Linked DNA regions of Homo sapiens: regions 1, 2, 3 and 5 are each linked to region 4. Evidence: promoter capture Hi-C in 16 types of primary human blood cells and fetal thymus (Javierre and others, 2016). All regions are on one chromosome and are shown on one strand. The core of a region is centred on a gene start or on the middle of the fragment in contact, and the rest is flanking DNA. Distances in the headings are between cores, read along the strand shown. Region 1 overlaps MTHFD2L (methylenetetrahydrofolate dehydrogenase (NADP+ dependent) 2 like). Region 2 overlaps MTHFD2L (methylenetetrahydrofolate dehydrogenase (NADP+ dependent) 2 like). Region 3 overlaps LOC105377277 (a long non-coding RNA gene). Region 4 holds the start of RASSF6 (Ras association domain family member 6). Region 5 has its middle 5.6 kb from the start of MTHFD2L.

Evidence for each region. Contacts are between HindIII fragments. The CHiCAGO score rates a contact against its expected background, and 5 or more counts as called.
Region 1: a fragment that was not itself captured here is called in contact with the fragment with the promoter of RASSF6 in region 4 in 1 of 17 cell types (neutrophils); the score reaches 8.3 in neutrophils.
Region 2: a contact is called between a fragment that was not itself captured here and the fragment with the promoter of RASSF6 in region 4, in 1 of 17 cell types (neutrophils). The highest score is 8.8, in neutrophils.
Region 3: a fragment that was not itself captured here is called in contact with the fragment with the promoter of RASSF6 in region 4 in 7 of 17 cell types (fetal thymus, monocytes, neutrophils and 4 more); the score reaches 16.7 in fetal thymus.
Region 5: a fragment that was not itself captured here is called in contact with the fragment with the promoter of RASSF6 in region 4 in 3 of 17 cell types (neutrophils, fetal thymus and M1 macrophages); the score reaches 8.5 in neutrophils.

Annotation. Positions count from the first base shown.
Region 1 is chr4:74,194,166-74,199,001 of GRCh38, reverse strand. The region is part of intron 3 of MTHFD2L (methylenetetrahydrofolate dehydrogenase (NADP+ dependent) 2 like); the gene reads right to left. Among named protein-coding and RNA genes, the nearest start is that of MTHFD2L, 38 kb to the right of the region's middle. The HindIII fragment of the contact is 4,148 bases long and covers 499-4,646 here.
Region 2 is chr4:74,167,624-74,172,261 of GRCh38, reverse strand. All of the region lies in intron 1 of MTHFD2L (methylenetetrahydrofolate dehydrogenase (NADP+ dependent) 2 like), which reads right to left. Among named protein-coding and RNA genes, the nearest start is that of MTHFD2L, 12 kb to the right of the region's middle. The HindIII fragment of the contact is 8,326 bases long and covers 1-4,638 here.
Region 3 is chr4:74,131,318-74,136,110 of GRCh38, reverse strand. All of the region lies in intron 1 of LOC105377277 (a long non-coding RNA gene), which reads left to right. It also overlaps a transcript of MTHFD2L not described here. Among named protein-coding and RNA genes, the nearest start is that of MTHFD2L, 24 kb to the left of the region's middle. The HindIII fragment of the contact is 511 bases long and covers 2,717-3,227 here.
Region 4 is chr4:73,617,092-73,621,938 of GRCh38, reverse strand. It overlaps RASSF6 (Ras association domain family member 6), which reads left to right and starts at 1,503. Exons shown (of 11, transcript NM_177532.5): 1 at 1,503-1,651. RefSeq lists enhancers at 931-1,479, 1,480-2,029. The HindIII fragment of the contact is 3,198 bases long and covers 1-1,838 here.
Region 5 is chr4:74,150,127-74,154,980 of GRCh38, reverse strand. It overlaps a transcript of MTHFD2L not described here. Among named protein-coding and RNA genes, the nearest start is that of MTHFD2L, 5.6 kb to the left of the region's middle. The HindIII fragment of the contact is 652 bases long and covers 2,028-2,679 here.

The sequences.
Region 1 (4,836 bases), core at 1,323-3,822, 580 kb before region 4:
TATAATGCGATTTAGACATAATTCTTTAAAACATTATAAAAGTCCAAGTTCAAACTTTTCAGAAAGCTATGCCTTGGGTTTTATATCTTTTGTATTCTAAAAGTGTGCTACTGCTACCTTAAGTCAAGCTAATTAACCATAATTAGATTACAAAAGTCCTTGAAATATATAAAAGTATTCATCTGAATCATATTCAAATAGAAACTGAGTCTTTGGAAAGTCTCTCCATTCAATAGTTTTTCACTTTTAATAACTGCATTCAGTCTAGAATGTTTTAGCAGGGCCTCCATCTATTTTCTCTATAGCTTGGAGATCATCATATAGATTCTAGTCAAACTTTTAAAAGAATACATATTTAACTTATTACATGAGGGTAAAAATACTGGTTCTTTTTTAAAAAAAATCTAGGTGATGATGATGATAAGTCATTTTTAAATCACCTACCACTCACGCGGAAGCTTCATGACATGGATATTTTTTACAATGAAATGAAAAGCTTTATAGATGAAAAGAAAAACAACTATATTTGGAGTATCTATTTTTAGCTAGGACTCAAATTAGTTTATTTCTAAGTTCAAAACTGGCTAATATATGCATGGGCTGGGCTACTGATTAAAAAGAACTCAACAAGGACTCTTTGTAGATTTTAAGAACCATTCTCCAAACAATAAGCCTCAATTACACTGTATGTTGCCATCTACCATTTTTTGCGCTCCCATTCACTGAAAATAACATTAAAGCTGTAACAAATATTTCAGTTCACACACCAGCTGAAATACTTGAGAAGAAATGTAAGCATCTGAAAATCTGGAAGCCAGAACTAGAGACTGGTGGTTACAGATCTGTCCTCTTGCATATGCCAACTTCAACTCAGATCATAATTCAGATCACCATTTTGGTTTGTCTTAAATATTTAAGTATTACTAGTTTAAAAGACAGATGAATGGACATACAAAATGTATAGCAGATTCATAAAACCTGAATCTAAAAGGAAAAGAGCTCCATATGAGTAGATGAAAAAAGTGAAGATCATAAAAATCCAGAAAACCAATTCATTTATCATTTTTATGTAACTCTGCTATCTCAGCAGTGTATTAAATCTAACATATATCTTTTTCCAGGAGAGATCTACCTATTACTATGTAGTATACAGTATATAGCAATAATGTGAACTACTCTATCTACATTTAAAAAGTGCTTTACAATGATTATATTACCTTTACATCAATTTCCTTTTAATCTTCATAGTTACTGGGGATAAAAGTAGGAAAGGTATGATCATGCCCATTTTAAAGACAAGTTCAAGGAGTTAGAGTCAATCTCAAATCACTACTAAGAATCCAGAATTTAAATCCATATCTTTTTGTTCTAAGATCAGTTTTTCCTTTTGTATCATACAGAAGTCATAATAAATATTAATCATTTTAAATACCATTAAAAATTAAAATCACAGAGGCCTCCCTCCCAACTCCTAATAAGACATTTGATAACTCTAAAATATCCCAAGAAATGTATTGTTTCTCCTAGGGCTCCAAATATAACACTATTCCTAGATTAAGTAATACTTGTCTAAGCACATGCAAAAAAGCATCAAACATTTTACATTTAGGATTACAGGTAATCCTACTTCCTTTTGTTATATGAGTAAGAGAAATAAATACATTTCCTGTTTGTGACTGACTGCTACTAAAAGTCTCCCAAAATCTCACCCTTGGGGCACATAACTTGAACAGAAAAAACAATCGTGAGACTTAATAGCATCAATTTTCTCACAGCAGTTATACAACATGTTTGATTCACAGGATACATTGGTAAACAACCAACCATTTAATATCTTACCCAAATGAATGATAAAACTGGTTTTATTCACTTTGTGTTTTCCCCCCTTCTATTTAAAGTTATGAGAAGTCATTAAATCATGCTAGGAAAAACAGAAGTCATCAAATCAAAATCTGAACCACTGTAATAAAACAGCTCAGATAATGCCTTTAGGACACTGTAGATTTACTATATTGAATGAATATATGTTTTGTATGGGTTTTTTTTTTTTTTTTTTGAGACAGAGTCTCATTCTGTTCCCCAGGCTGGAGTGCAGTGGTATGATCTCAGGTCACTGCAACCTCCGCCTCCTGGGTTCAGTAGATTCTTCTGCCTCAGCCTCCCCAGTAGCTGGGACTATAGGCATGTGCCACCATGCCTGGTTAATTTTTGTATTTTTAGTACAGATGGGGTTTCACCATATTGGCCAGGCTGGTCTCAAACTCCTGACCTCGTGATCCACCACCTCGGCCTCCCAAAGTGCTGGGATTACAGGCATGAGCCACTGAGCCTGGCCACTGAATACATATTTTTGCGATGTATTTATAATATGCTTAATTGTCTTTGGACAATGAACAGAAAAAAAAAGGAACAAACAAATTACTGGCTTATTTTCCACCTATAGATTTTTACAACATTACTGTTTAAAAATGCCACCTTCCACTTCCCCCACATCTGTTGGATAAGTGCAAGCTCATCCGTATAGTAAACATTGTGTCCTTTAGCTTATTTTTCCTATAGTCTCTTCTCTGTGTGTTCCATACCTTTACCAACCATCATCATCACATGCCCTCCACTCTAGTCACACCAAACCATGTCCTTTCCCCAAGCCCTTAGCATTAACTTCTGCATTGCTATTGCTCATGATGATTTTTTTCACTACTAATCCTTTCTTCTCAGTTTTTTTCACATCCTATTCATTCTTCAATGCATTGATCAATTGCCCCCTGTTGAAATGATCACAAATTGAAACAATATTTTTTTCCTCTGCTTTCCCATGGAACTGCTATAAAAAATACTTAGCACACTAGTTCAGTTAATGATATTAGTTGTTTAATTATCTCTATCATTTATGAATGTGAGCCTTTTAGGACACAGTCTGTCTTAAACTGATTCACTTATAACTACTCCATCTCAGTTGATGGTGTGAAAAAAAAAATCTTGGGCCCCCAAAATCACTAAGCTAAAGGGAAAATTCAAGCTGGGAACTGCTCAGAGCAAATCTGCCTCCCATTCTATTCAAAGTCATCCTTCTGCTCACTGAGATAGAGGAATGTTCTGATTGCCTCTTTTGGAAAGGCTTATCAGAAACTCAAAAGAATACAACCATTTGTCTCTCACCTACCTGTGACCTGGAAGACTCCTCCCCTGCTTCAAGTTGTCCCCGCCTTTCTGGATGGAACCAGTGTACTTCTTACATATGTTGATTGATGTCTCACGACTCCCTAAAATGTATAAAACCAAGCTGTGGCCCAACTACCTTGGGCACATGTTTTCAGGACTCTGAGGCTGTCTAATGGGTGCATGTCTTCAACCTTGGCAAAATAAACTGACATTTGTCTCAGATTTTCAGGGTTCATAATGGGAAACCCATCCTTCTGTGCTACTTGCCAAGAAAACCTGGAGTCATCTTAAATATCCCTCTTTCTCTCACACCTAACATCCAAACCATTGGAAAATCTGTTGACTTTCTTCATAATAATATATCTAGCACTTTATCAGTCTCACCATGTTCATGATACTACTCTACTTTGAGTGAACATTATTCTTCCTGTCAATTCTTGAAACAGCCTCCTAATTAGTTTCCTTCTTCTATATGTGCAACCATACAATTTATTCACAAAACAGCAATAGAGTTATACCTTTGAAGTACATATTTGATCACATTGCTTTTCTCAAAACCCTGCAATGTTATTACCTTAAAAATTGCAAACAAGGCTCTACATGATTTTTACTGCACCAAAACCATAGCTATGTGTCTAATCCCATCACTGGTTACTCTCGTCTTCTCTCAATCTGTGAGCATCAAGCTGGTCCCCTTGATGTTCCTTGAAAACATGAGGCATTTTGCCACCTTAGCTATAGCTTTCTATCTGCCTGGAAGGCTTTCCTAAAAAAGAACTGTCACCTAGGCTAAATCCCTACCTTCTTTCAAATGTTTTCTTAAATACCACATTCTCACTGTTAAAAGAAAAACTTCAGCCAAATTAAATTTAAAGATGTTTAATTGAGCAATGAACAATTAACGAATTGGGCAGCCCCCCAGAATCACAGCAGATTCAGAGAGACTCCAGAACAGCCACGTGGTAGAAGAAGATTTGTAGACAAAAAAAGGGACACAACACACAGAAATCAGAAGTGAGGTACAGAAACAACTGGATTGGTTACAGCTCAGTGTTTGCCTTATTTGAACATGGTTCGAGCAGCTGGCTACACTTGATTGGCCAAAACTCAGTGATTGGCACAGGTGTGGGCCACGATTGGTTTACACCTCTACTTGTTATAGTTCACAATATACAGAAAAACCTTTAGGCTAATCTTAAATATGTAAGGAGGCAGCTTTAGGCTAAACTTGATTAACATCAGTGAGGACAATTCTGACCACACTATTTAAAAATGTAGGTTCAGTTTCTAGTGATTGTGAAGTAGCTTATATTGGACTAAACTTCTTACAGAAAACAACTGCAAACTTCAGTAAAATCATTTGAAAAAATACAAAAACAACTATCTGAAAAAAATGGAAAGTCACTAAAAACAAACAGATGTAGAGGAAAGTAGATAGCTTAAAGAAAAAAAAATCACTGAAAGAGTTCTCCACTTTAAAAGCTTTTCTAGCCACAGGACAGCTAGAATTTGGATAGAAATATTCAGTCCTACTTGCTTAAGAGATCAAAAGATGAAGTTTGGGGCTAACACCGTAGTTGAAAATTGAAGCGATATATCCAGGAAAGGAGAAAGCCACAGAAAGGAGTCCCATACATTGTATACAAATTCTGTATCTCTGAATGACCCCTGAAC
Region 2 (4,638 bases), core at 345-2,844, 550 kb before region 4:
GTCAAGAAAATGAACATGTCTATCATTCCCAAAACTTTCCAGGTGCACCTTTAAAATTTTGCCATTCCACCTGTCTCTGCCAGATTCCACTCCTCAATTCACCATTCCAGGCAACCATTGACCTCTTTTGTTCAGTATATATTGGTTTGTATTATGAATAATTTTATAAAAATTGAATCAAATACTACATACTCTTTTTTGGCCAGCTATTTCCACTCAGCATAATTATTTTTTAATTGATTCACATAGTTGCATGTTTGAATGGTTCATTTCTTTTTTATTGCTGAGTAGTATTACATTGTATGGATATACCAATATTTGTTTATCCATTCGATTGTAATTAATGGATATTCGGGTTCTTTCCAGTTTTTGATCATGACAAATACAGCTGTTACAAACATTTTATAACACATATGCTTTAATATATTTTGTACACATATGCTTTAAAATATTTTTTTTGTGGGGGACAGGGTCTCCATCACCCAGGCTGCAGTTCAGTGGCAAGATCTCGGCTCACTACAACCTCCGCCTCCTGGGTTCAAATGATTCTGATGCCTCAGCCTCCAGAGTAGCTGGAATTACAGACATATGCCACCATGCCTGACTAATTTTTGTATATTTAGTAGAGACGGGGTTTCGCTATGTTGGCCAGGCTGGTCTCGAACTCCTGGCTGCAAGTGATCTGCCCCTCTTGGCCTCCCAAAATGCTGGGACTACAGGTGTGAGCCACCACTCCTGGCCGCTTTAATTTCTTTTGAGCAAATATCTCAAAGGGGAATGGCTAGGTCACATCGTAAGTGTATGTTTAAATACGTTAAAAACTGTTACGTTACAAAAACACTGTACCACTTTGCAACTTTGCATTCCTTCAAACACTATATGAGTTCTGGTTGCTCCATATACTTGTCATCACTTCAGATGGTCAGGTTTTAAAACTGTTGACATTTTAGTGGACATATGGTGGTATGTCACTGTGCTTTAAATTTGCATTCCCTTAACGAATACTGATGTTGAACATCTTTTCATATGCTTATTTGCCATCTGTGATCTTCTTTAGTGAATTAAATAATTAAGTCTTTTGCCCATTGTTTAGTAGGTTGTTTCCTATTTTGAATTTTTTTAATTTTATTATTATTATACTTTAAGTTTTAGGGTACATGTGCACAATGTGCAGGTTTATTACATATGTATACATGTGCCATGTTGGTGTGCTCCACCCATTAACTTGTCATTTAGCATTAGGTATATCTCCTAATGCTATCCCTCCCCCCTCCCCCCACCCCACAACAGTCCCCGAAGTGTGATGTTCCCCTTCCTGTGTGCATGTGTTCTTATTGTTCAATTCCCACCTATGAGTGAGAACATGCAGTGTTTGGTTTTTTGTCCTTGCGATAGTTTGCTGAGAATGATGGTTTCCAGTTTCATCCATGTCCCTACAAAGGACATGAACTCATCATTTTTTATGGCTGCATAGTAGCCCATGGTGTATATGTGCTACATTTTCTTAATCCAGTCTTTCGTTGTTGGACATTTGGGTTTTTTTAAAGTTCTTTGTGTATCCTAGATTCATGTCCTTTATCAGATATGGGGTTTGAAATATTGTCTCCCAGTCTGTGCTTTGCCTTTTTATTCTCATGTTTTTAGAACAGTTCTTAATTTTAATGTACTCCAATTTATTATTTTTTCCTTTTATGGACCATGCTTTTAGTGTTGTATAAAAGAAATCTTTGCCTAATTCAAGGTCACAAAGGTTTTCTCCAGCGTTTTCTTCTAGATGTTTTATGGGCCTAAGTTATACATTCAGTTTATGATTTATGTCTATTTTTAGTTTGGTGAGAATTTGTATGAGGCTACTGCCAAGTGTTTTTTATGTCTATTGAGATGATCATATGTTTTTCTCGAGTGTTAGTCTGTTAATATGGTAACTGATCAATTTTCAAATGTTAAATCAAACTTGCATTCCTGGGATACATCCCAGTTGGTTATTATGTATCTATCCTTTCCAGACTATCATGGATTTCATCTGAAATTTTGTTAAAATTGTTGCATCTACATGCATAAGAGGTGTTTGTAGTTTTCTTTTCTTATAATGTTATCATGTAGCTTTGATACCAGGATGATGCTAGCTTCATAGAATGAGTTAGGAAGAATTCTATCCTCTTCAAATTTCCGGAAGAGTGTGTAAAGAATTGGCATTTTTTTCTCGCTTAAATGTTTGGTAGGATTCACCCATGAAGCTATCTGATTCTGGGGTTTTCTTTCTGGGAAGGTTTAAACCTACAAACTTAAATTCCTTAATATAGAGGGCAATTCAGGTTATCTAATATTTCTTGAGTGATTTTTGTAGCTTGTGCTTTGTACCTTCCAATACTTTGTATGTAATTATAAGCAAATCAAGTTAAAATAAAATAAAACTTTTGAGGTTTTTATTTTTCAAAGTAAAGTAACAAACTTTTTTCACTGTTTCCTATGAATTTCTGGTAAGGATATTTTATGAATTCATTTAAGTAGCCTTTTGGCACTAAGATAACAAGGATCTTTTATATTAGCAAATACTAAGAACTGCAGATACAGCAACAAATTCCAGCACAACTCATTTATAGGTAGTAGCAAATAAAACTTTCCATAAATCAATTTGTGTCAGCAATATTTTCTTGGGGTAGAACACTATTATAGAAGCAGATTCATCTGTTAAAAAAACTAGTAATCACCTAACACAGTAAGGAATATACATTCTATTTTAAAATATAAAAACATCTGAACTCTGTCTTGCATTTTATAGCATGTGAGTAGTGATGCTACTGCTGACACATTATTGATTCACTCACATTAAACAAAATAATTTGTTCACAGGCCACTGTGAAGCTGGCAATCACTGAGTATAATCTAGGCTAATTATGTCCTAGACAGTACAAATCTGCGTGACCTGGAGATTGTCAGAGAAGACCAATAGCATAAACTGATTCCCAGACTCCAAAGAGACAACCTGTATACAGATTAAACTTAACTGTACCGTGCATACTCAAGTCTAAGACTGTTCAGGGTTTACTTTAAATTATAGCACTGAGGTGCTAAGTCAGCTCGCTAACTAATTACAGCAGACATGATACAGCCTGGCTAGCTGGTGTTTATGGGTAAATTAGGAGTTAGGTCTCTGAGCATTTTCAGTAGCAACTGGCCCCTCCAACTGACTCCATCAGTCACCGTAGAGACTCAGCAAGCCTAGCTCTGTAGGAGTCACTGTAAGAGGCAAAATGAAGCAACCTCAAATTAATGCAGGTCCAATGAGAGAGTGCCTGTATTGGTCCATGTGCTGGAAGAACTAGTCAACTCACACATTCTCATTACTTTAGTGCATAAACAAATTAGATTTTTCAACATGAAAATTCTTGAAAAGCTAAAAAGGTTAAACATCAGCAACAATTCAAATGTTCAGCCCCTGAATAATACATCTCCTAAAATTTCTCTCCGGCTTGTCTTGATCTCCTCTAATCCATTTTCCATACTGCAGCCAGAGTGATTGTTTTCTAATTTAATTACAGCACCTCCCTGGTTAAAACTCCCCACCACATGCTCATTGTTTATTCACTTAACAAATATATATTGAAAGTCTCCTATGTGCTGAAAACTATTTTGGGCACTGGGAATATAAATAATAGGGCACAAAACAATTACCTACTTTTATGGAAACTATATTCTAGTTGAAGAAGATATAAGCAAATTGAAAAACAACAAGTATTTAATATGTGTAACATGAGGCAGAGAAAGGACTTATCTGAGGGCCAGAGTTATTTTACATAGGTGGGTTAAGATATCACTTCTCTGATAAATCAGGTGACACGTGGGCAGAAATGAATGAAATGAGTCATGTAGATTTCTGGAAGAAAAGCATTCTAGGCCAAGGGAAGGGAAGAACAAGTATGGAGGCCTTTAGCAAGGAGCATACCTGAAATCTTTGAGGAATAGCAAGAGGCCAATGGTTGCAGTGGAAAGAACAAGTGAACTAGGGTAAGACATGAAGTCAGAGAAGGAATGGGACATCAGATTATATAAGGCCCTGCAGGCCTTTGAAAGGATGTTGGCTTTTACTGTGAGACACGAAGCCATTTAGAGATTTTGACGTGACTTTCACTTTTAAAATAACTGGTGAAAATATGAAGGATAGACTCTATGAGATCAAGGGGAGAAGTGGAGACTCCAGCTAAGAAGCTAGTGTAGTATAACAAACAAGGGATCATGGGGAGTTAGGCAAAGGGGTAGCCATGGAGGTGCTAAGTAGTCTGATTCTGAATCTATTTTGAGAGTGGAACCCTTGGGAGTTACTGAGATTGGGTGTAGGATATGAAAAAAAGAAAAACAGAAGGCAAACATGACTCTAACATTTCTGACCTGAGAAATTGGGGGAAAAAGTTAACTAAAATCCCAATCCCCTATGGGTTACACACTTCTGCATGAGCTACTTTAGCCTCACTGTTAAAGAACACTGTGCTTAGTGAGTCGCGCACTACACACCAGTCATATTTTAATTCATGAACTGCACCATGTTCTCTCCAGATCTTCAGATATAATATTCCCTCTGCCTGAAACACTCTTCCTTCCCTTTCTCACCTCTCCAACCACTTTGCCAAGTCTGTCCCA
Region 3 (4,793 bases), core at 1,723-4,222, 510 kb before region 4:
GAATAACAGCAAAATAATAGTGAAAGTGGGCATTCTTATCTTGGTCTAGCCTTTAGAGGAAAGGCCTTCAATTTTTCCTTGTTAAGTGTGTTGTTAGCTATGGGTTTGTCATAGATGGCTTTTATTATTTTCAGGTATGTTTCTTCTATGCCCAGTTTGTTGAGGATTTTTATCATAAAGGAATGTTGAATTTTATCAAATGCCTTTACCTTTATGGCATCTATTGAAATAATTATATGATTCTCATTCTCGATTCTGTTAATGTCGTGTATAACATGTATTGATTTGCATATGTTGAACCATCCTGTATCTCTGGAATGAATTCTACTTGACAATGGTAAATGAGTATTTTGCTGAAGATTTTTACATCTGTGTTCACTGGTGATATTGGCCTCTAGCTTCTTTAAAAAAAAAATGTGTCCTTGTCTGGTTTTGGTATCACAGTAACACTGGCCTTGTAGAATGAGTTTGAAAGTATTCCCTCTCTCCTCTTTAATCGTTTTGAAGTATTTGAATAGAATTGGTATTAGTTCTTTAAATGTTTGGTAGAACTTAGCAGTGAAGTTATCAGGCCGTGAGCTTTTCTTTGATGGGAGACTTTTTATTATGGCTTTGATTTCATAACTCATTATTGGCTTATTGAGGTTTTCTATTTGTTGATGGTTCAATATTGGTAGGTTGCATGTGTCCAGGAATTTATCCATTTCTTCTATATTTTCCAATTTGTTGGCATGTAATGGTTCCTAATTGTTTCTAATGATTCTTAGTATTTCTGAGGTCTCAGTTGTCATGTGTCCATTTTTGTTCCTACTTTTATTTATTTGGGTCTTCTCTCTTTTTTTCTTATTCTGGCTAAAGATGATTTGGAGCTCCTTTATATGCTGCTTGCTTCTTTTCTCTTGCTGCCATTACAGTTTTATCTTTATGCTTGATCTTTGACAGTTTGATTAGTAAATACCTTCATTAGTCTTATTTGACTAATGTGATGCTCTAAGGCCTTCCTGTACCTGAATATTTATATCTTTCTCATGTTTTGGAAAGTATTCTCTTATTATTTCTTTGAATAAGCTTTCTACCCTTGCTCCTGCTCTGCTCTCTCTTGAACATCAATAATTTTTAGATTTTGTCTTTGAGGTAATTTTCTATATCTTGTAAGTGGCCTTCTCTCATTTTCATTCTTTTTTTCTTTTCTCTCCTCTGTTTATTTTTTAACAGCCAGTCTTTGAGCTCATTGATTCTCTTCTCTGCTTGACCTATTCTGTGGTTGAGATCCCCTGAAGAGTTTCTTAGTTCAGCAAATGTAGTTCTTAGTTACAAGATTTCTGCTTATCATTATTTCAATTTCCTTGTTAAATTTCTCTGATAAATATCTGAGTTGCTTTTCTGTGTTATCTTAGAGATAACAAAGTTTCCTTAAAACAGCTGTTTTGAATTCTTGGTCAGAGAGTTCACAAATCGCCATCTCAGGAGGGTCAGTCGCTGGAACTTTGCTTTGTCTAGAAGGTTATGGTTCCATGTTTGCTGTTGTTTCTTGTGGGTATACATCTATGTATTTGTATTAATAATTATTTAGTCCAGCTTTATCTGTCTAGTTTGGTTTGGTTTTTATTGAATACAGTTGCTTATGAATCTTAACTGCCAGCTTGCTGCCTTGTTTTCGGCTCTAGATGGCGCCATAAGCCTATGTTTACCTTGACTTTTGCAAATGGCCATGGCACTGCCTGTCCCATAAGGAGGAGGACCAAAGGGATTACCCTAGCACTGTGGGAAGGCCGGCCACGGGTGTGTTCCCAGGGGACTTGTGGAACATACTTGCTACATGATTTCTACTGATTTGGCATCTCCTTTGGTCAAGTTACAAGGAGTTTTTACGGCTGAGGATGGTAGTCCTGGCTTCCCTATTTGTCTTTGCCAGCCTTCACAGACATTTCTCCCTCCAGGCAGTCACAGTGCTACCTGTGGTTTAAGGCAAAGGCAGGTCTCCTGGCAGGAAACCGAAGAAGATGGGAAAGCTGGTTGACAATCTCAATTTCACGTTTTTCAGTGCAGAAACCATGAGTTGAGGGCAGATTTTTCATACTGCTGATGCCTGGTGTAATGCAGGGAAGAGGCCTCATGGATGTAGAATCTGGTTCTCCTACCATCTGCTCAGAATGTTTCCACTTCTCTGTACCTACAGGAACTGTCTCATCCTCATACAGGATCTCTGGGTTGCTGCTGGTGAAGATCTTGCTGCTGTGTATTTCTTTTTGGTTTCTGGTGGAGGGGAGAGAAGCAAGCTTGCTTCTATGCTGCCATTTTGGGATTAGAAAACCGATATGTGAACTTTATAACTAAGAATTCAAAATAGCAATTTTAAGGAAACTCAGTGACCTACAAGATAACATAGAAAAACAATTCAGATACTTATCAGAGAAATTTAACAAGAAAATTGAAATAATAATTTAAAAATGAAACAGAAATCTTGGAACGGAGAACCACATTTGCTGAATTGAAACACTCTTTAGAGGATCTCAATAACAGAATGGGTTAGAGAAAAGAATCAGTGAGCTCAAAGACTGGCTATTAAGAAAATACAGTCCAAAGAAAGAAAAGAAAAAAACAATAAAAAGAAATGAAGGCCACCTTTAAAATATAGAAAATTACCTCAAAAGACCAAATCTAAAAATTATTGGTGTTTAAGGGGGAGCTGAGCAAGAGCAAGGGGAGAAAAGCTTATCCTAAGAAATAATAACAGAGCACTTTCCAAAACTCATGAAAGACAGAAATATCTAGATATAGAAAGGTCAGGGAACACCAAACAGATTCAACCCAAGTAACACTAACCAAGGCATATAATAATTGAACTTTCAAATATCAAAGACAAAGAGAAGATCCAGAAAGCAGCAAAAGAGTAAAATAACAAAGCAACTCCAGTTCATCTGGCAACAGACTTCACAATGGAAACCATGTAGGCCAGAAGGAAATAGGGCAGCATTAACAAAGAGAAATTGTCTTTCACAGACAAAAGCTAAGAGAATTCACCACTACTAGACCCGTCTTGCAAGAAATGCTAAAGGGAATTCTTCAACCTGAAATTAAAAAATGCTAACATATTAGTGTACTAACTAAAAGAAAATATTTCAAGGTATAAAACCCACTGGTAAAATTAAGTATGAACACAACCCCAGAATATGCTAATAATTTAATTGTGGTGTGCAATCCAATCATAACTCTAGTAAGAAGCTTATAAAGACAAATCTATCAAAAACAATAATAGCGACAACAACCTGTTCAAAATAGATATTTTTAAAATATGCGAACTGATATAATAAAAATTCAAAGTGTTTGTGGGAGGTGTGGAGTTAAAGTGTAGAGCATTTTTTTCATTATTATTATACTTTAAGTTCTGAGATACATGTGCAGAATGTGCAGGTTTGTTACATAGGTATACATGTGCTATGGTGGTTTGCTGCACCCATCAACCCGTCATCTACATTAGGTACTTCTCCTAATGGTGTCCCTCCCTTAGCGCCCCACCCTCTGACAGGCCCTGGTGTGTGATGTTCCCCTCCCTGTGTCCATGTGTTCTCATTGTTCAACTCCCACTTATGAGTGAGAACATGTGGTGTTTGGTTTTCTGTTCTTGTGTTAGTTTGCTGAGAATGATGGTTTCTAGCTTCACCCATGTCTCTGCAAAGGATGTGAACTCATCCTTTTTTATGGCTGCATAGTATTCCATGGTGTATATGTGCCACATTTTCTTTATCCAATCTATCATTGATGGGTATTTGGGTTGGTTTGACATCTTTGCTATTGCTATAGTGCTGCAAGAAACATACCTGTGCATGTGTGATTATAGTAGAATGATTTATAATCCTTTGGGTATATATCCAGTAATGAGATTGCTGGTCAAATGGTATTTCTGGTTCTAGATCCTTGAGGAATCGCTACATTGTCTTCCATAATGGCTGAACTAATTTATTCTCCCACCAACAATATAAAAGCATCCCTATTTCTCCACTTCCTCTTCAGTATCTGTTGTTTCCTGACTTTTTAATGATTGCCATTCTAACTAGTGTGAGATGGTATCTCATTGTGGTTTTGATTTGCATTTCTCTAATGACCAGTGATAATGAGCTTTCTTTTTATATATGTTTTTTTGGCCGCATAAATGTCTTCTTTTAAGAAGTGTCTGTTCACATCCTTCACCCACTTTTTGATGGGCATGTTTGTTTGTTTTTCTTGTAAATTTGTTTAAGTTCTTTGTAGATCCTGGATATTAGCCCTTTGTCAGATGGATAGATTGCAAAATTTTTCTCTCATTCTATAGGTTGCCTGTTCACTCTGATGATAGTTTCTTTTGCTGTGCAGAAGCTCCTTAGGTTAATTAGATCCCATTTGTCAATTTTGGCTTTTGCTGCCATTGCTTTTGGTGTTTTAGTCATGAAGACTTTGCCCATGCCTGTGTCCTGAATGGTACTGCCTAGGTTTTCTTCTTGGGCATTTATAGCTTTAGGCCTTATGTTTAAGTATTTAATCCATCTTGAGTTAATTTTTGTTTAAGGTGTGAGGAAGGGGTCCAGTTTCAGTTTTCTGCATATGGCTAGCCAGTTTTCCTAACACCACTTATTAAATAAGGAATCCTTTCCCTATTGCTTATTTTTATCGTTTGTCAAAGATCAGATGGTTGTAGATGAGTGGTGTTATTTCTGAGGCCTATGTTCTGTTCCATTGGTCTGTATATCTATTTTGTTACCAGTACCATGCTGTTTTGATTACTGTGGACTTGTAATATAGTTTGAAGTCAGGTA
Region 4 (4,847 bases), core at 254-2,753:
AAACCATTTGCTCAAATAATGATAAATCTGATAGTTCCTGGTCTCCGCACACCACAGATTAAATAGATAAACTGCCTAATATTTTTTCTTTTTTTTTTTTGAATCAGGCTGGAGTGCAGTGGTGCAATCTTGGCTCTCTGCAGCCTCGACTTCCCAGGCTCAAGTGATCCTCCCACCTCAGCCTCCCGAGTAGCTGGGACTATAGGCATGCCCCACAATGCCGGGCTAATTTTTTTTTTTTTTTTTGCAGAGACAGGGTTTTGCCATGTTGTCCAGGCTGGTCTTGAACTCCTGGGCTCAAGTGATCCACCAGCCTTGGTCTCCCAAAGTGCTGAGATTACAGGCGTGAGTCACTGCACCTGGCCTGCCTCACCTTTTGAACATATAGGATCTTACTTAAAGTGCTATGACAAACATGCAACCTGAACATCTAGAGTCATTCTGTTTGTCTGGCGTTTGAACACGAAAGATACTAGAAATTAACTCTGCCTGCTGAACTTTTTGCAGGAATCAGATTGAATTTCTTTTGAGGGCTCTCAGGTTTACACTTGTAAAATAACCTATTATGTTTAAAAATTATGAATAGTTGCTTTACATAGGAAACCAGTAAAATAACAATGATCCTTAAAAATCTGTGTGTGTGTGTGTGTGTGTGTGTGTGTAAATGTACTTCATATTTCCACAGCATCTGTCATTTAACAGTTTCTAAGCCTTTTTGGTGTCCTTTTGAAATTGGAGATATTGGATAAAACAAAGCCCCCAAATCCAATTCAGTAGATAATGACTAAATTATTATTTATCTCCTCTGTTTTGTTTCATTATGTTCATTTTCAAACTTTGATGTCTACCAGTTTCTTCTGTGGAGCTTATAAAAAATATAAATACCCGAAGTGTATGCATGGCCTACTAAATCAGAGTCTCACAGTTGATGGTACCTGGGTTTAGCAGAATACATAGGTGGTCCTGGTGCACCCTGAAGCGCGAAACGCTGCTCTGGGTGAAAAAAAGTGCTAGCAGGGAAATGTGTTAGCAAAATAACAAGGAAAAGAAAGTTAACAAATCTCAAATTGGAAAAGAAAAATCTTAAAAAGAAAGACGTGAATAATGGCGTTCAGTCTTGGTTGGTGTCATTTCTCACAGGCCAATTACCTACAGTCTGGGTGGACTAGAGAATAGAGATTAACATCAGTCAAATCCCGTGGTTAAAGCGTTAACTAGAATGTCCATTCATTTCTCAAGAAGTGTGGCAGAGAGCAAAGGAGTGTACCTATCAGCTGTTCCTAAGAAAGTAAACACTCCCAACATGCACTGAGGCACAGGGAGTGGCTCAGGTTTCTTGACACTTCCCTGCTGTGGCGAAAAGGAGAAATAATTAACAGCTCCTGGGGCTCCAGGATCGCTGATCGCGTCGGGGGCACTGCAAGCGCCCAGCTGAGCCATGCTCTGGGAGGAGACAGGCGCCGCCCCTGCGCCCGCGCGGGCCTCGGACCTCCCCTACAGGTGAGTGACTCGCGGAGTCCCAGCCCGGCAGAGACAGGGCACTGGTTTCCCTCTACCAGAGTTCCTGACCCAGCCGAGAACAAACCGCGAAGCAAGTTCAGCCGAACAACGATGGTGAAAAGGGTCCTCCTGCTCACAGTGTGAATAACAGGTAAAAAATGGGGATGGGGAAAAAAACTTTCTAATCCACTCCCTGGGGTCATGTTGAGGGCAAGTTATTAGAAAGCAGAATCCATAGGCAACAAAGTTAAGTGTGTGTGTGTCATAGCAGCCTGAATCGCACACATGCCTTTTCCTTTTGATTTTCTCAGAATATGCTTTCCTAACCAAGGTAAGCTTGTAGGGTGGGAGGGAGAGAGGGGAAAGAAGGGAGGGAAAGGGTGCAGAGAAGGGCTTGGAGGTAAATGTGACCATAGGACCCCTCCTCCCTTTAGTTCAATGAGCCCTTCACCTGTAATTGTGCCTGGCAAAAATCGTGCCTTACAAAGATACTAGACTTCTGGATGGCATACTCCTTCCTCTGAGTATCCTTATGGTTAGAATATTGTGTTGAATCATCGCACTGGAAAGAACTTAATTGAGGGTTCAGCTCAACTTTTATTTGTTTCTGCAAAGTGACAGAAAGCATGCCCCCCACCAAAAAAAAAATGAATTTTCAATATAAGCGCTCACCAAACAATGAAATAATAAACATAAATAATTAAATGGGAGTGCATGAGTTAAGGATATGAATTCTGAAGCAGAAGAGTGGTAGGTTCAAAGCTCGGCTTTGCCACTTATTAGTTTGCCCCCTCTCAAGTTTCTTAACCTAAGCCCCAAACGTTTGTCTGTAAAACAAGCATCATCAAAGGATCTGCCACATAAGGCTTTCTTTGATGGGAACTGAACAGTCAGCAAGTGTTCTGTAAGTGATACCTACTGTTAGCATTAAGAATAAGCTGCTCTGCCAAAGGGGCCGTTATCAGGGAGGGCAAGCTGAACTAGGGAGACCAGACAGTGTGTATTAGGATGCTGGAATTGAACTGGTTCCCGGAGACTGGATCCAGGACAGGCAAGCAGGTGACAGGTGTGCTAGGATCATCTCTCTGGGTAGCAACGAAATGACCTGGCTTCTTTCCATTTTTCAGATAGAGTATGTGGTGGCAAATTCAGACATATTTGCTACTCAATCAGTTTTCTTTTGAAAAATTCACATTTACATTAATCTGTTATTCCTAAAAAGAAAATAGAATTTTAGAGTAAGAGAGTTACACACAATCTCATATTGTGGAATTCATGCCATTTGGGTTTTATAAAGGAGACTGCTTTTGAATAACTTTCATCAATTTAGACCATATAATCCATGTCTTTATATTTCAGCACATATTGAATTGTTTGTATTGAAGTGCTGTTTTTAATTTGTGTTGATGGACAAGAGACATGAAGGAATAATACTTGTATTTTGTCAGTCTCTACCTCTTAAGCTTAAATTACAGGAAAGTGGCTTTATTTTATGAAGTTTCACTTAAAGGGCACTTTTGTCAATGTTGTTAGTTATTAATGTTGCTAATTTTCTTGAGGGGACCAACTTAGTGTCTATGACTAGTAATTTCCATTGACTTCATTTTTATCTTGTTATTTTATTAAATAAAGCAGTCAAAGAGTTTGCAGTATACTCTAACTTAATATCATTGGTGTTTTAATGGATTCTTTTTTCAAATTGCAGAGTTGAAATTCTTCAGTGTGCTTACAATTAGATATTGACTGGAGAATTGTGGATAGAATTCTAAACCCAACCTAACTGAAGTTTACTATGTTATTTCCCTCTGGGGTCTGATTGTGTTTAGTACAGTTTAGCTAAAAACTTATAAAGGAATCAAATTGAATTAGAATAAGTTAGGGTTCCAATATTCATTAAAGATTTTTCAAAGAGGAAATATGCTTTTATGCTGAATTTCCATATTGTTATACATCCTTAAACAAAGTTATTTGCCTTTATATTTATTGATAGACATATGTCTAAATAAAGAATAGTAGCCCCAATTGAGATAAATTTATTTAACCATATTTGAAATTGATTTGAGATTAATCTACTTAACCGTAACTGGGTGGAAGTCTTTCTAGTTAAAATCTGTTTAGATAGATAGATAGATAGATAACAACTTTATATCTATACATTAGAATATTGTGTTGAATTTACATTTATTCTACTATTTCTCACGTGTATAACATTTTATTATAAACTATTAAATGTTGTGGTCAATCAGAGAGAGAGAGAAAGAGAGAAAAGAGTGACACAGAGAGACCCAGCAATGATTACGAAAAAATTAACTTTTCCAGTTATATTCAAAATAGTGTAACATGTATGTAACAAGTCTTTTAAGCATGTAATTAAAAGTTCTATACCTGATTCTTGTTTTAATTTCCTAAAATAAGAAGGATCCTTTACTTTTAACTGAGATAGAAACCCAATGCTGACAGTCCATTTGCTTATATAGATTCATTGATTGCAATGTAGGTGGGGAATTCACGGTTACTAGAGTTACATGGGCTTCATATAAAAGCTTAGATTTTTAAAATATTCAAGTATAGGCCATTTGAAAACAAAACCTCTGAGAAAGGAATTCTGAATATTTTCCTTTCACATTACAGTTAGAGAGTTATTCTGTTGCAAAAATTAATTTGTATGTTTAAAATGATAAATTATAGTGATTTCATCACTTTCATAACATAATCTCAACAACCAAACTTAACTAATACCACTGCTTTCAGGAGTAGAACATGAAGTGTCTCCTATTTAAGTAATAAGGATGTTAACTTAAAGGAAAACTTCATCATCACCTAGAGCCTAGTAAAGGAGCTTAAGAGGAGAGAGTGTCGATTCTTTTGCAGCAAATATACAAACAGGAAAAATGAGTCGTGATCTTTGTGACGTCAGCCTAAGAATTTCTACTGGGAAGCTCAGGTGAAGCAGAAAATTTTTGAGTTCCACCACACCAGTAATTCCAGAAGATGCTGTCGGCAGACTGAGCAGCGCCTCCCAGACCCAGTGGTGGCAAGATGCCTTAAGTGCCTTAATACAAATTTGCTTCTCTGACCGTTTCTGCTTTCTTTATCTCCCTGAGGGCACCTTGAGCAGAATAAAATGCATGGCATTAGTACCATGTAAATATGCAATAGAACAGTAAAGTTTTGGCATTTCCAATTAGATTCCACTTGAACTGAGGGCAGTGGCATGCTCACATAGAAGTGTGTTTGATTCATATTCTGCTTAGTCCTCTCTTAGATTCAATGATTATAATACATTATTTCTATCTCAAAACCAACAATCACTGACTGCAACCAATATTACTTAATTAAGTGATAGT
Region 5 (4,854 bases), core at 1,104-3,603, 530 kb before region 4:
GCAATGGGAGGAGGCTAGAATAATCCATATGATAATGGATTAGAGTTGGGAACATCAGTTTTAGCTTAATACAAATACAGATGGTTACATATACAAATATTTATAGATGTATGAATATTCAGGAGTTAGTTTACATACATATATTTATTTGCTTTGCCAGCTGAGAATGCCTAAAACAACACCCGAAAGCAATAAGCACACCTTCAGCCCAGATATTGGTTTCTAATGTCATTCTACAATAACAGGAACCAGGACTCCTTGGAAAAATTGCTGATTCTAGGCTCAGGAAATATATTAGATGATCCTAGAGCATCGTGTAATTCTGGAAAGTAAGGAACTCAAATAAATCCCACATTGATGGGGATATGTCAGGGACAGGAGCCAACTGAAAGGGTTCCTCATGCCCAAAGATGGAACAATTTGAGTAGTAAAATAAAGTAGTGTTGGATTATAACCCGAAGTATAAAATTAATATCCATGAGCCCATAATCATATAAATAAATATGTGATTGAATAAATAAATAAATATGGGAGAGAAGAAACATGATGCAGAATTCCTAAAATTTATGTAGATACTCCACTCTGAAGGAGGAGTAGAATTCTTCACTTCTTAAATGGGAACTGATGATAGTGACTTCCTTTCAGAGTTCAGTTTAGAAAATGGGAAAAGAGAGTAACTTACCTATGGAGAAACCTGACAAACACTACCTCAGACAGTGATCAGGATTAACATCAACACCAATATATCATACTGATAGGATGGATACTTGATATAATGTGGCGAGAATTGTACTTTACCTCTGCAATCTTCCTGCAAAACCTGTAACCCCAGTCTGATCGTGAGAAAAACAATTAAATCCCAACAGAGGGACATCCTACAATATACCCGAAGAGTATGTCTCAAAACTGTAAAGACAATCAAAAACAAGGAAAGTCTAAGAAACTGTCACAAGTAAGAAGAACCTAGAAAAACATGACAACTAAATATAATGTGATATCTTGGATTGGATCCTGGAACAGAGAAACAGCATTACAGAAAAACGAAGAAGATCTAAATAAAGTATAAACTTTTGTTAATAGTAATGTATCAATATAGATTCATTTTATCATATAATGTAAGATGTTAATAATCGGAAAAACTAGATGTGTGACATATGGGAAACTCAGTACTATTTTCTGAATTTTTCCGTAAATTTAAAACTGTTCTATAAAATAAAGTCTATTTTTTAAAATGTCTATCTAGCCAGGGTAGGTATATATTAGAATCAATACCAGAAGAGAATCTTTAAAGGTGGACTTTATCCAAGTTTTATTTATTGCTCTATTTGTAGTTATTAATTTATTTATTAATATTTCCTCCTGAACTGAAAAAGGTAAAGCTGATATATTTTCCCTGTTTTAATCCTCAATGTGCTTCTAATACCTACTCAACAAATATTGAATTCCTTTGAGTTAAATCAGGGATGATTAAAAATTACAGAGAAAGAAAGCTAGTTGCTAATGTGGAATAAAAACTTTCTCCCATGATTATTTTAAGTGTTCCAATGAAAATTTTGGAAGTTGCTTTAAAGAGTACAATACATTTTTATGCCACAGAGATATATGCGTCCATGTAATTATTTGTAGTGTCCATGACATTGCTTGGGGCATCTTATTTAATAGGCTCCATTTATATCGTCAGTTATCTTTTCACTATATAGCATTCATTGTTGTAACAAAATGTTTCAAAATGATTATCAGAATGTGAACAGTTAGCACTGGCATCAAAAGCCACCAAAGTTGGAGTAGGTTGCTGTGAGGCAACCAGAGTTGGTACTGCATAATGACAGACAGATGCATAGCTTACTCCAGAGAATAGCAAAGAAGCCCATTCATAAGATAAGCTTACTAAGAAACTGAGATGTCAAGGGAAAATCACAGCCAAGGAATAAACAAGGATCCAGAAAACCAGGAGTGGAGCCAAAGCAATAAACAACATGGGTAGCTACTGCCTGAGATGAAGCAGAAGCTAATGAGCTGAAGAAGCTTAGCTTGGCAGCATCAGCTAGAAGAGGCAAGTTCCCTAGGATATTTTAAGATCATTATATTTTCTGTCCCAGAGTGTTTTCTTTTTGTTTTTGTTTTAAATTAAACTAAGAGATTGATGTATCCTGCTTGTCACTAGCTGCTCTTAAAGAAGTTTGTACTTCAGGAACAGAAAACCAAACACTGCATGTTCTCATGCATAAGCGCGAGTTGAACGATCAGAACACATGGATACAGGGAGGGGAACATCACACACTGGGGCCTGTCAGGGGGTGGAGACAAGGGAAGGGAGAGCATTAGGATAAATACCTAATGCATGCAGGACTTAAAATCTAGATGATGGGTTGATAGGTGCAGCAAACTACCATGGTGTATGTATACCTATATAACAAACCTGCATGTTCTGCACATGTATCCCAGAACTTAAAGTAAAAAAAAAAGTATTGTGCTTGTCTGTCAAAGAAAATTTTCCATGAGCTCTTCCAAATCATATTTTCTGTAAGGGAATTCTCAATAAAAATATAAACAACTTTACAGCATATGTGTTTTAAAAACCTGATATTTATATAAATTATTAAAATTGATTCATGAAGTAGAAAACCAAAACAGACAGAAATGGAAAAGAAGCTACTAATCAAATACAACTATAAAGCTTCCTAAAGCAGAGTTTTTTTATGCCCTCAAAATATGATAAGTCATACTAAAAATCTTTCCAAATCATAGAGAAGGAATTTCCCAGGTATTTTTATTATATTCAAACCCAATTTAAAAGAATACAAAAAAAGAAAACTATTGAACAATATAACTGATAAATGTAATTATTAGGATATGAAAGAAAACATTGTTGATATAATTTGATGGTATTATAAAAGGAAAAACTTTACCACAACTAAACGATAATACAAAGATGGGTTAATTAGGATAATATTGGAAGTGTGTCAGTTCATATATCACATAAATATGGAAAATAAGAGAAAGAGTATTTGATAAAATTCAATAACCTTTCCTAATAACATTTAATAAACTAGATATAAAAATATTTCAGATCAACAGCTAATAGCATTCCTAACAATGAACCTGTAGGGACATTCCAATAAAAATTTGGAAAACCTATGAAGGAAACATTAAGACTGTGATGAGTAATGTATGCAAAGACTTGAATTAATAGAAAGACCAAGATGCTTAATATTGTAAATATGTCGACTTTCACTAAAATAATCTATTAATCCAATACCCAATAAAATATCTCAGTTTTTTAGTCAAATGGGGGAAGATTTAATATAATAATAACAGCATATGTTTCCCTGAATTTGCTATGTGCCAAGGCTGTGCTGAACACTTTTCAGAAGTTATTCTTTTAACCCTTACCACAATGAAGCTATGAGGAAACAGGTAAAATAGGCTAGATAACTTGCCAAGACCTACAGCTATCAAGTGATGAAAGTGGAGTTCAAGTCTCAGGTAGTGTGAAACCAGTGCCCACACTTCTAACTGCAGTGCTTTTCTAAATCTAAGGTTCTCCTGGAAAAGTTTGCATGCTACATCGCTAAGGTACAGAGAACTCATCCCAATGTCTGCATTTTAGTCATTTATACAATCTTCTGTAACTATAAAATTGATTTTTGATTTGAATCTGTGTAATAAGGAGAAAATAATTTTTAATTTTCCAATGAATGGTGGATTCTATTGAAAAATTGATTACCAAGTTTTATTTCATGATAATTAATGTGACTACCAGTTTCATATTTTAATAACTTATTGATAGTTTATTTGTGGTCTTATAATACCATTAACTGTATAAAAAGTGCACCTGGTTTAGAATATAATGTTAACTATATATACTGTATATATCTATATACATGTCAATATATAACCAATGTTACAATGATTGTCTTTTTTCTAATTCCTCTGTTCAACTTTTTAAAGACTAAGAATGATGTAAAGAACCCAATTTTTCTTTATTTTTTACTACATATTATAGCATTATTTCATCAGTGAATATGGGATAATGATTATTACAGATTCCATATAGTTTATCTATTATCATTATATAATGGCCTTCTTTATTTTGTTAAGCCTTCTTGTTTTCCATGGTAATTGTTAGACATTGCTACTCCTATCCTTGTTTAGTTTTAATATGAAAAGTGTCACATGTATATATTTATATATATATACACACACACACGTATACATATACACATGTATACCTGTATCTTTTTACATTTAAATTTTGTTTCACTTTGTTTTGATGTGTGTCATTTAAAACAACATATGTTAATTTTTTTAAGTTATGGGATAATGTTTGGAGCAGAAAATAATATGCAAATAATATATATGCATTGGCTTTTGATTGCTGCTATAATAAATTATCACAAATTTAGTGGTTTAAATAATACAAACTTGGCCAGGCACGGTGGCTTACGCCTGTAATCCCAGGACTTTGGGAAGCCTAGGCGGGCGGATCACCCGAGGTCGGCAGTTTGAGACCAGCCTGACCAACATAGAGAAACACCGTCTCTACTAAAAAATACAAAATTAGCTGGGCATGGTGGCGCATGCCTGTAATCCCAGCTACTCAGGAGGCTAAGGCAGGAGAATCGCTTGAACCTGGGAAGTGGAAGTTGCAGTGAGCTGAGATCGCACCATTGCACTCCAGCCTGGGCAAAAAGAGCAAAACTCTGTCTCAAAAACAAACAACAACAACAAAAACTTATGGTGTTACATTTCTTTAAGATAGAAGTCTGGTGTGAGTCTCACAGGGCTATAGTCAATTAGGGTTGTATTCCTTCTGGAGGCTCTAAGGAGAATCCATCTCCTTCCTTTTTGCGT